Linked DNA regions of Homo sapiens: region 2 is linked to region 1. The links are contacts of gene promoters, found by promoter capture Hi-C in human tissues and cell types (Jung and others, 2019). All regions are on one chromosome and are shown on one strand. The core of a region is centred on a gene start or on the middle of the fragment in contact, and the rest is flanking DNA. Distances in the headings are between cores, read along the strand shown. Region 1 holds the start of TWIST1 (twist family bHLH transcription factor 1). Region 2 has its middle 23 kb from the start of FERD3L.

Region 1 (5,534 bases), core at 998-3,497:
GTCAGGTAAGATTTCCTTTACACTTTACCCACACTTTCCTGTCTTACTTATCCGTGGCCACAAAGGAAAGAGTCCAATCATTCGATCTCTTTATTTATTTTTGAGAAAAGAGAAAAAAAGAACAAAACAAAAATAAGATTTATCTTTAAAAAAATAGCTGAAGTGGAAAAGGTTTCGAGATTTCTGCAGCCACGTTCTAAATAAGAATTGCAGAATACTGTAAATTCAGATTTACAAAAAGAACACTTGGTGGAGAGTGGGGCAGAATTTCTGCCGCATTCTCTAAGCGCTTCCAAGAGATAAAATCCTGTAGCGGAAGATGCAAACGCAAGGGTGCAGGGGTGACTGTTTTGAGAACTGCTAGAGTGCTACTGAAATTAAGTGGAGGTCAAGTCGAATCTGATTTTCAGACAATTTTACAGTAAGGCAGCGGCTCACTAAACAGGCCAGTTGACAAGCTGTAGTCACTTTCTGAGTATTTCTGTAAAAATGGTAAGGGATCAACTCTGCAATTTGTCCCTCCCATGAAAGCACAGTCTTGTTTACACCTCGCTGGAGAAATAACACTCGCCCTCACTTCTCCCAAAAAGCTGAACCCTTCAGTCGGCCCAAGCAGCTCCACACCCTGAGGTTTCCAAGACCAAAGCTGCGAGTCTCAGCAGGGAACAGCCACGTGGCCTGCCTGCGCCTCGCCTGGGCTCTTGCCTTCAGCTTGAGATATCTGCAGCCGCGAACCTTGCTCCAGCCCAGAAAGGGGCGCTTTGCTCAATTAATTGTTCCCGCCGGCGAGTCCGTACTGAGAAGCCCATGAGCGGACCTTATGTGCAGGGTACTCCAGCGCGGTGCACAAAACTCGTCGCCCCCAAACGCTGCCCCCACCCCAACACTGTGTACTGACTCCAGCTTTTTACTTTGCCATGTAAGGGATGGACCTGAAACGGTTATTTTACCTCAATTCATTTCAAAAAGGAAACAAGTATGGCATTGCAAAAGATGGGCTTCTTATCCAAGGCGACTTCCTTTCTGGTTCACCAACTTTGCTGCTTCCAGTTTGCCAGGATCTACATTAACACCCTCTTTGGGGCTCTTCGTTTTAACTTACAGACAGAAATGCTTAAAATGTTAGCGTATCCAAGCATTTGGAATTGGGGCTCACGAAGCCTAATTGTCCACTGGATGCCCTAGATAGTGGGGGCTGGGGCGGGGGGGGTCTCAGAGCGGGCAGCCCCTATGTCTAGGCGCTATCAAATTCCCACTTCACTCTCTTACAAGCTGGCCTTTCAAGGTCACAATGCGGAGCCTAATTTGGGGGTGGGGATGAAATGGCCACAGGGTCTCTCCCTTGGGTTGGCATTGCCAGCTGTTAGGGCCGCAGCAAAGGCGCTGCGCTGCCCCCCTCTGGCTCTGCTGCCTTTCCCATGGACTGGGTTTCCTTCCACCGAAGAGTGAACTTCTGCCTCTTTCGAGCACCTTCCGAGGCGTAGTCCTTTGGATGTTGGGGAGCGTCAGACTGGGTCGTTGTAGAGGGGAAAGGAGGGCCCAGAAGGGCGAGAGAGCAGGCCGGGACGCAAATCCTCAGCCCCCGCGGCGCGGCCACGTCTTCAGAAACGCCCAGGACCTCCGGGCTGGGCCGCCGCGGTTTGGCCTTTGGAACTCCAAGGGGTTCGTCTACCTGACCATTGGGTGGGCTCCGCGGTTGACACTTTTCTTGGCATGCCCCCCCACCCCGCGCCACACCACCCCCCCAGCCCCAGCAATCCCAAATCGGCCCCACGGACCTAGAGGGCTCTTGGGCGAGATGAGACATCACCCACTGTGTAGAAGCTGTTGCCATTGCTGCTGTCACAGCCACTCCGGATGGGGCTGCCACCGCGGCCAGGACAGTCTCCTCCGACCGCTTCCTGGGCTGCGCTAGGGTTCGGGGGCGCTGCCCGCACGCTCCGGCGGGGAAGGAAATCGCCCCGCGCCCGCCGGAGGAAGGCGACGGGGAGGGAAGGGGGAGGGCGGCTAGGAGGCGGGTGGAGGGGCCGGCCGCCCGGGCCAGGTCGTTTTTGAATGGTTTGGGAGGACGAATTGTTAGACCCCGAGGAAGGGAGGTGGGACGGGGGAGGGGGACTGGAAAGCGGAAACTTTCCTATAAAACTTCGAAAAGTCCCTCCTCCTCACGTCAGGCCAATGACACTGCTGCCCCCAAACTTTCCGCCTGCACGGAGGTATAAGAGCCTCCAAGTCTGCAGCTCTCGCCCAACTCCCAGACACCTCGCGGGCTCTGCAGCACCGGCACCGTTTCCAGGAGGCCTGGCGGGGTGTGCGTCCAGCCGTTGGGCGCTTTCTTTTTGGACCTCGGGGCCATCCACACCGTCCCCTCCCCCTCCCGCCTCCCTCCCCGCCTCCCCCGCGCGCCCTCCCCGCGGAGGTCCCTCCCGTCCGTCCTCCTGCTCTCTCCTCCGCGGGCCGCATCGCCCGGGCCGGCGCCGCGCGCGGGGGAAGCTGGCGGGCTGAGGCGCCCCGCTCTTCTCCTCTGCCCCGGGCCCGCGAGGCCACGCGTCGCCGCTCGAGAGATGATGCAGGACGTGTCCAGCTCGCCAGTCTCGCCGGCCGACGACAGCCTGAGCAACAGCGAGGAAGAGCCAGACCGGCAGCAGCCGCCGAGCGGCAAGCGCGGGGGACGCAAGCGGCGCAGCAGCAGGCGCAGCGCGGGCGGCGGCGCGGGGCCCGGCGGAGCCGCGGGTGGGGGCGTCGGAGGCGGCGACGAGCCGGGCAGCCCGGCCCAGGGCAAGCGCGGCAAGAAGTCTGCGGGCTGTGGCGGCGGCGGCGGCGCGGGCGGCGGCGGCGGCAGCAGCAGCGGCGGCGGGAGTCCGCAGTCTTACGAGGAGCTGCAGACGCAGCGGGTCATGGCCAACGTGCGGGAGCGCCAGCGCACCCAGTCGCTGAACGAGGCGTTCGCCGCGCTGCGGAAGATCATCCCCACGCTGCCCTCGGACAAGCTGAGCAAGATTCAGACCCTCAAGCTGGCGGCCAGGTACATCGACTTCCTCTACCAGGTCCTCCAGAGCGACGAGCTGGACTCCAAGATGGCAAGCTGCAGCTATGTGGCTCACGAGCGGCTCAGCTACGCCTTCTCGGTCTGGAGGATGGAGGGGGCCTGGTCCATGTCCGCGTCCCACTAGCAGGCGGAGCCCCCCACCCCCTCAGCAGGGCCGGAGACCTAGGTAAGGACCGCGCCGCTGCACCCCTTCGCCTCTCAGGTGGCAGACGGCAGGCCGGCCAGGCCGCGGTTCCCAGTCCACCTCGATTTCCTCCCCTCTCCCACTCTCCGCTCAGCCTTCCCACCTCACTTGGCACCGTTGCCTCGCGCCCCCAGCGTCCCCGGAAGGCCGGTCTGACCCCGCTAGGGAGAGCAGTCTCCAGGGGGATGCGCCCTGGTGAGGGGTGTGTGTGCGCGTGAGTGTGCGTGACAGGAGGGGAGACAGAGACACCCAGGGTCACGGGTAAGGACCGTTTTGTCAGCGCCACCCTTTCTTTCGGCTTTCAATTTTTGTTCTCCTTAAAACAAATGTTTTAAAACAAATTCCACCTCCTCCTCCTTTCCACCCACCCACTTCCTCTTGCCCTTGGGCTGAAATCCTTCCAGGTTGTTCAGCTTAATTTCTCAGTGGTGGTGATAAGAACAGTGCTCACTAGTCTTAGAAAACAGCCGCAGAGACCTAAACAATAACCGACTCCCCCCCCCCCCTCTGGGTTTTTGCAGATGTCATTGTTTCCAGAGAAGGAGAAAATGGACAGTCTAGAGACTCTGGAGCTGGATAACTAAAAATAAAAATATATGCCAAAGATTTTCTTGGAAATTAGAAGAGCAAAATCCAAATTCAAAGAAACAGGGCGTGGGGCGCACTTTTAAAAGAGAAAGCGAGACAGGCCCGTGGACAGTGATTCCCAGACGGGCAGCGGCACCATCCTCACACCTCTGCATTCTGATAGAAGTCTGAACAGTTGTTTGTGTTTTTTTTTTTTTTTTTTTTGACGAAGAATGTTTTTATTTTTATTTTTTTCATGCATGCATTCTCAAGAGGTCGTGCCAATCAGCCACTGAAAGGAAAGGCATCACTATGGACTTTCTCTATTTTAAAATGGTAACAATCAGAGGAACTATAAGAACACCTTTAGAAATAAAAATACTGGGATCAAACTGGCCTGCAAAACCATAGTCAGTTAATTCTTTTTTTCATCCTTCCTCTGAGGGGAAAAACAAAAAAAAACTTAAAATACAAAAAACAACATTCTATTTATTTATTGAGGACCCATGGTAAAATGCAAATAGATCCGGTGTCTAAATGCATTCATATTTTTATGATTGTTTTGTAAATATCTTTGTATATTTTTCTGCAATAAATAAATATAAAAAATTTAGAGAACCTTAGAGTTTGGTCTATATTTTTAAAACTAAAGATTAAGTTGGTGGTAAATACCTGCTTGTTTAATTCTAGAGGCACCCAGGAGGGAGGGGGCACTAATATAAACAAAGCAATGAAAAACTCAAATAAAGCAGCTACTGACAGGCACAAGCATGTTATTTTAAAAGACAGCTTTATTATTATTCCAGTTTGGTATTCAGAGGGCTTAGTAGCATCTCTTCATCTCTTACTGTCTCCAAACAGCAAAAACTTAACAAATTTGCTATTCACCTCCTTTTTATTTTGAGGTGATAGTTGTTAAAACAGTTAAATGCAAATAAGGAGTATAAAACCTGCACTATTCTCTTATTATGTACTTTTTGTCATGCTCTTCACTCTTTGTGAAGATTCCTAAATAACAGGTTCTTTTCAGTGAAAACATATATAGTGTTATGAAAATTATCTATACACATATAGAAATGACCAGAAATGCATAGAAAATAAAGTGTAAATCAGCAGAAAAGAGAAAATTCCATTTGTAATTTGCTTAACTCTTCTCTCATGAATGAATATGACGTTTAGTGTCATGTTTGCTAAAAAGAAAAGTTAATATATCGCTATATTGACGCTATTTGGGAAGCATCATTCTTTTTTTATGTGTAAAGAATATAAGGCTGTGGAATAATATACAAAAATGAAGATCCTGAACTTTCAGTATCCTTGGTAACTGGATATAATCACAGTTGGAATAATCACAGTTTTAAATACTACAGCTATGCAGTTACTAGTCAGTTCATTAGCGTTATATTTTATCCAGAATTACACAGAATTTTTCCCTGGTGAGATCATACATACACACACACACAATCTGAAGTTAAGTAAAACAATAATGGGCAAACGGGGGTGTTTGATTTTTTATTTCATTCTGATTATTTGTGGGCCAGGAACATACTGGCTTTTATAATTAACATTATTAGAAATAGTGATTTTGTATCAGTTCTTAGCTTTTACATCCGATTTACTGCATCCAAGTGTAACTGGGGAAGCTTTCAAACTGGAAAATCATTTTGGTGCCTGTTTCAAACAATGACTAATAAGTGTATGTATCCAAACAGATCGTTTTTGCTTAGCTCAGGTCAA
Region 2 (5,534 bases), core at 1,541-4,040, 51 kb before region 1:
AGGATTTAGGTTGCGTGCTCCTTAGGAGAATCTAATGCCTGGTGATTTGTCACTGTCTCCCATTGTCCCCACATTAGACAATCTAGCTGCAGAAAAACAAGATCAGGGCTCTCAGTGATTCTACATTATGGTGAGTTGCATAACTGTTTCATTATATATGATGATGTAATAATAATAGAAATAGAGTAGCAGAATATAATAGAACAATATAGAAATCTCATTATATATTACAATGTAATAATAATAGAAATAATGTGCACAATAAATGTAAAGTGCTTGAATCATCCCAAAACCATCTGTCCTATGCCTGGTCCACAGAAAAGCTGCGTTCCATGAAACTGGTCCCTGGTACCAAAAAGGTTGGAGACCACTGCTGTGAAGGATCTAACAACTGGAGGCTCTCTGCTGATATTCCTTGCAGTTGGGCAGCAAAATCTCTTTAAAGTGGAATCTGGGTGGCATCTCTCTGTGTCTATTACATATAGATAGATATATAAATAGATATATATAAATATAGATACAGACATAGACAGAGACATGGATGGATATAGATATAGATATTACAGATCTATAGATATAGATATATACAGATACACATATAACTGTTGTATGAGGGTATATATCCAAAAAATAATATATAGCATTGTGTTTGGTTATTTATTATTGCTTTAAAAATTACACCAAAGTTTGGTGAATTAAAAAGAACTCAATTGTTCGCTCATGAGTTTGCAATTTGGGCAGACCTCAGAGAAGACAACTTGCCTCCACTCCATGGGGCATCAGCTGGGGTGTCTTAACTAAGGCTTGAGTATTTACTTCAATATTGGTTCACTCACATAACCAACAAATTGGTGCCAACCATCTCCTGGAACATCAGCTGGGCTCAATTACACTCAAATTGTGTATCTTGATGTAACAGCATGGGCTTGCTCACAGCATTGAAGCTGAATTTTAAGAAGGAAAAAGAAGCTCTCAGGCCTTTTATATCCTGGTCTTTGCAATCTAGACCATCACTTCTTCTACATTCCATTGGAATTATGTCCCAACCCAAGTTCAATGGGAAGGGAACATAAGCTCCACCTCTTAATGGGAAGAGAGGCATGTACATCCAGGGAGGAGAATAATAATTTGTGGATCTCTGGAGACTAACTATCACAGCCTAGCTACTGGCCACAGAAACTCACATCCCTCCATGTACAAAAGAATTTCACCCATTTCAAGACCCCTAACAGCCTCCTTTCATTATTGCATCAACTACAAGTTGAGAATTTCATTTACATCAGGTCTAAGTAGAGATGAGTCTAGGCACAGTTCCTTGGAAGAAGTTCCTTGAGAATGGTTCTCCTCAATATGAGGAAACAAGGCATCTGTTCACATACAATGGTGGAAAAGAGACAGGAAAACTTCAACGGGTGCTCCAATTCAAAAAGGGAGAAGGAGGGAAGGAAGGTTCATAGTAATGACAAATCTATTACAAAGCTAAACACATTAAAGTTACTTAATTAAAGCCGACTGAGTTGCCTGAGAGTGGCTTACCATGACACATGGCTCTATCTTCACCTGTGTGTAGAGCTAAATAACTTTGTCTGCTTCATGTCTACAGAAAGTTAAGGACCTAGATACATCTTGTTATAAAATTCCTCTGTTCCTTTTAATTCAAGCTAACATAATTTATTTAAAATTCTGATGGGCTTCTTTTTTATCAAATTATAAGCCATATTAAATGGCATACGAATAAGCTAAATTTGAACCTCCAAGGAAAGGAAAAGCTTATTTGTGACTTAGCTAAACAGATATGATAATTCATGTTAAAATTCAGACTTCATCTTATAATCAAAAATAATGCTTTTATTCACTTATCTAACATGGATCTAAATGCAAAACTTTAATTGTGTTTGATAGCATTATGTAAATTGAAAAACTGCAAGAAATTTTGAAGAACATTTTGTCGATATTGATAAATTCATAATTTTCAATTTTACCAAACCCTTTTGAATTTAATGTTAATAATGTGAAGTTATTGAAGATTTAGTGAATTTACTTAACTTGGACAGATACCATCTTGAAATTAATATACTTTTGTTTTAAAGTTCTATCAATTCCTCCAATAACTGAATCAGTTTTATCAATATGCATTTGAATGTTAATAAAAATGATTTGGGGTTCTCAATTAAGTTATTGGAAAACTGGTAAGTAAATGTGACATAATTTGAGTATATGAATCTACCTTTTCAACTATACATTTTATGAAATTTAAATATACATCAAATATATACAATGAAAATTTGGTGTCCAAGTTATGTTGTAGGTGTAAAATATACATTGAATTTTGAATACTTAGTATTAAAAAAGTAAAATATCTCATTAACAATTCTGTATTGGTTAAATGCTGAAATAATGCATTGTGAAATTGCATTCAATATTATATTTATTTATTTCACCTGAGTTTTTCTAATATGGCTGTGTCCATTATCAATTTATTGCATCTGAGTCCCAAAGTCACCCTTATGTACATGCTCTGTGATAATGAACTGTATTCTTAAACATTTCTCCTTCATAGGCAATATGATTTTAAGCTTTGTCAGTTGCAGGTGCTAGAGGGACATTGCAGGATGCAGAAGACTTCTCTTCCCGGTTCTTACTGCTGAGCTTTGGGGTTTTATCTTGTTCCTGATAAACAATCACTCCACATGTGGGTGCTTGAGGACATTTATTTGTTGGTGCTCATCCCTAACTATGTATCCAGGGTGCACAGGCCCTCATCACCTTCCCATAACCCTTCTGATACAGACACCACACCCACAAGAGTGCCCCAACCCTTTCTGAATACCCACCTACTAGCCTCAGCTTGTCACAATTGCACCCTCGAGGATTGTTCCTTGCTGCTCAGCAACTGTAGACCATCACTCTTGCCCAGGTAATCTAGCAAATTGTCTGCTGTCCAGTGAGCTGAAATTATAATTTTTTCCAGGGAGTATGGACCTCAGCCTGAAAGAGGTCCCCCACTTTCAAGGTTATCCTTCCTTGACTACTCTTCCTCAGCTCTAGGATACCTTTTAGAGTTCTTTTTAAATCTTCCTAGTTTTATCTTAGCTTAATAATTCTTTATATTAAACTTCCCCTATTTAAGTTACTGTGTGATTTCTGTACTTGATTAGACTCAGATTATTACAGGGTATATGTGAAGAAAAACTTTAATTACATATATGACTTACATTATATTTTTATTAGATAGTGCTGCTAAAGAGTATATACCTAGAGAAGATAGGGAGAGTGCAAGTAGTTGGAAACCTTGAAAACAATGACAAAACATTAAATTATATTTTAATAAAATTAAGAATTAAAAATCAGGTCAAGCTTCAAGAGACAGATGAAGTATTTGAACTGGCACATCAAAATGGCATTGAAATATGATTCTTTCTACCATGACTCAAATATTTTTCTGGGAAAAGTCTGAAAGTCTACCTGAGAGGTTAGCATTCTTGTCCCATTGAAAGATAGTTTAAGTGCCAAACTACAGCTGTAGAAAAGAATGGAGAGGAAGAGATAGATATGACAAAAACAAAAACAAACAAAAGTTAGGAGTAAAATTGGCAAACTAGTCTTTAGACGAAATAGATATGTCTGGCAAAGGCCAATGTGATATTAACGATAACACCAAAGTGTACAGTTTAGTCATTATTAGAATAGTGATATCTGAAAACAAAGTTTGTTCCTAACAAACTGCTAGTCTAGATCTCCAGTAGCATGAATGAGTACAAGCTAACCTACAAAATAGAAGCATATTTTAACCTTATCACTTGAATTTAGGTAAGCAATGTTATTCAATTAAAAATCACCTGCTTAACAAATCTGTAAAAAAGATTTTAAAAGGGCTTTAAAAGGGGTCTTTTTAAAAAGGGCTAACAATTATAGACTAGTAAGAACTGCCCCACCAAACTGTTAAAAGTTAGATAGAATCTCACTATTGATTGTTAAGGCCTAATACTGTCTATGTGAGCAAGGTTATATAATAATATTGATTTCATGTTTAATGTGAAATAAATATATTATTACTTTTCAATTTTTAAAAATCGTAATTAATTTTGTTCTATGTGGCTTAAAATACGATTATTTATGTACTTTATATATAATAACTGAATAATCTTTATAACATTAGGAAAACTAAAAGCCATCAGCTAATTAAAAGCCATACCCATTGAACAGCAAAGGAAGGGAATTTTACTGCAATGTAAATTCCAGTACTCCAACTATAATTTCAGTCATGCAAAGACCAGACTATTAAGCCATCAGAAAAAATAATCCATGGAAAAACTGCTGATTCCATGTATTTTTTACTGAATATAGCCCTAAAAATATGTTTCAGAAAGTTTGTTTAGTATTATATAACTACTTGGGTTATGTGGTTTTCATATTTTTTAGTCTATTTACTAAAACCATTGGTCCTACATTTAATTGTTCACCACAAATAGAGACTTTCCAAGCTTTCAAAATAATGGAATTACATTAAATATCATCAATATTTAGGATGAGAATTGCATTACATTTCATATTGATGATAAATGTAATCAAGATATTTTTAAAAACATGTTCAGTATGTGTAATTCACTATAAAATTTTATTTAAAATTTTTCTTTGAAAGCCTTTTTCAGAGTTACCAAAATCAATTAAGGCAAGTACAAACTGGATTCCACAAAATTCTATCTGCATTGGGTGTTACAAACATAATCTAAACAACAGGGTCCAAAGCAATCTTACTGAATTGCAGGTGACACAAAACTAGACAATATAAGAAATGCATAATTAGATCATGGGCCAGATAACTAAACTGATAACAGCTTATAAGGTTTTGAGAATTTCCAGGTTTAGACTTCAAGAACCCAGATCCATTCTCAAGTCAATAGAAGTCACATTCTCCAAACCTTTCAGTTAGCAACTATTAATCTTGGTAGCACCCCACACATTCTGCTGAGTAATTTCACCTCTCATCAACTCAGGAGAGCTACAGAAGTAGCTTAAGGGAAGCTTTGCCTATCAGACACATTCTTTTCTTTTTTAAGATAAAACAGCTTTATTGAGGTATAACTGACATATAATAAACTACACATTTAAATACAATTTGATAAGTTTTGATATATGGATCCACCTATGGAATCATCACCACAATCAAAATAATAAGTACATCCTTTGCCACCAAAAGTTTCCTCATCTCCCTTAAGAATTCCTCTCGGTAAAGCATGTACCCCTAGTTCACTGGCCACTGACCTGCTTTCAGTTACGATAGATTAGTTTGCACTTACTAGAACTTTACACAAATGAAATAATAGAATATGTACTTTTATCTATTTTCTTTCAGCATATTTAAGATTGATTTCTTTTTATAATGTGTACTAATAATTCATTCCTTTTTACTGCTGAGTGGTACTCCATTCTTCAGATGTATCACAGTTTGTCCATTCATTTGTTGATGAACATTTGGATGGTGTACCACAAAATTATAAGAAAGGTTGCAGCTATTACAAGTAAATCTGCTA

What was found. Contacts are between HindIII fragments. The study calls those that stand out against the background at their distance.
Region 2: a fragment that was not itself captured here is called in contact with the fragment with the promoter of TWIST1 in region 1 in 1 of the 25 tissues and cell types used here (hippocampus).

Annotation. Positions count from the first base shown.
Region 1 is chr7:19,114,349-19,119,882 of GRCh38, reverse strand. It overlaps TWIST1 (twist family bHLH transcription factor 1), which reads left to right and starts at 2,247. Exons shown (of 2, transcript NM_000474.4): 1 at 2,247-3,212; 2 at 3,752-4,415. The coding sequence starts at 2,562. The coding sequence ends at 3,170. RefSeq lists enhancers at 237-1,100, 2,174-2,957, 2,981-3,240. The HindIII fragment of the contact is 7,370 bases long and covers 1-5,534 here.
Region 2 is chr7:19,165,558-19,171,091 of GRCh38, reverse strand. No RefSeq gene overlaps it. Among named protein-coding and RNA genes, the nearest start is that of FERD3L, 23 kb to the right of the region's middle. The HindIII fragment of the contact is 3,931 bases long and covers 825-4,755 here.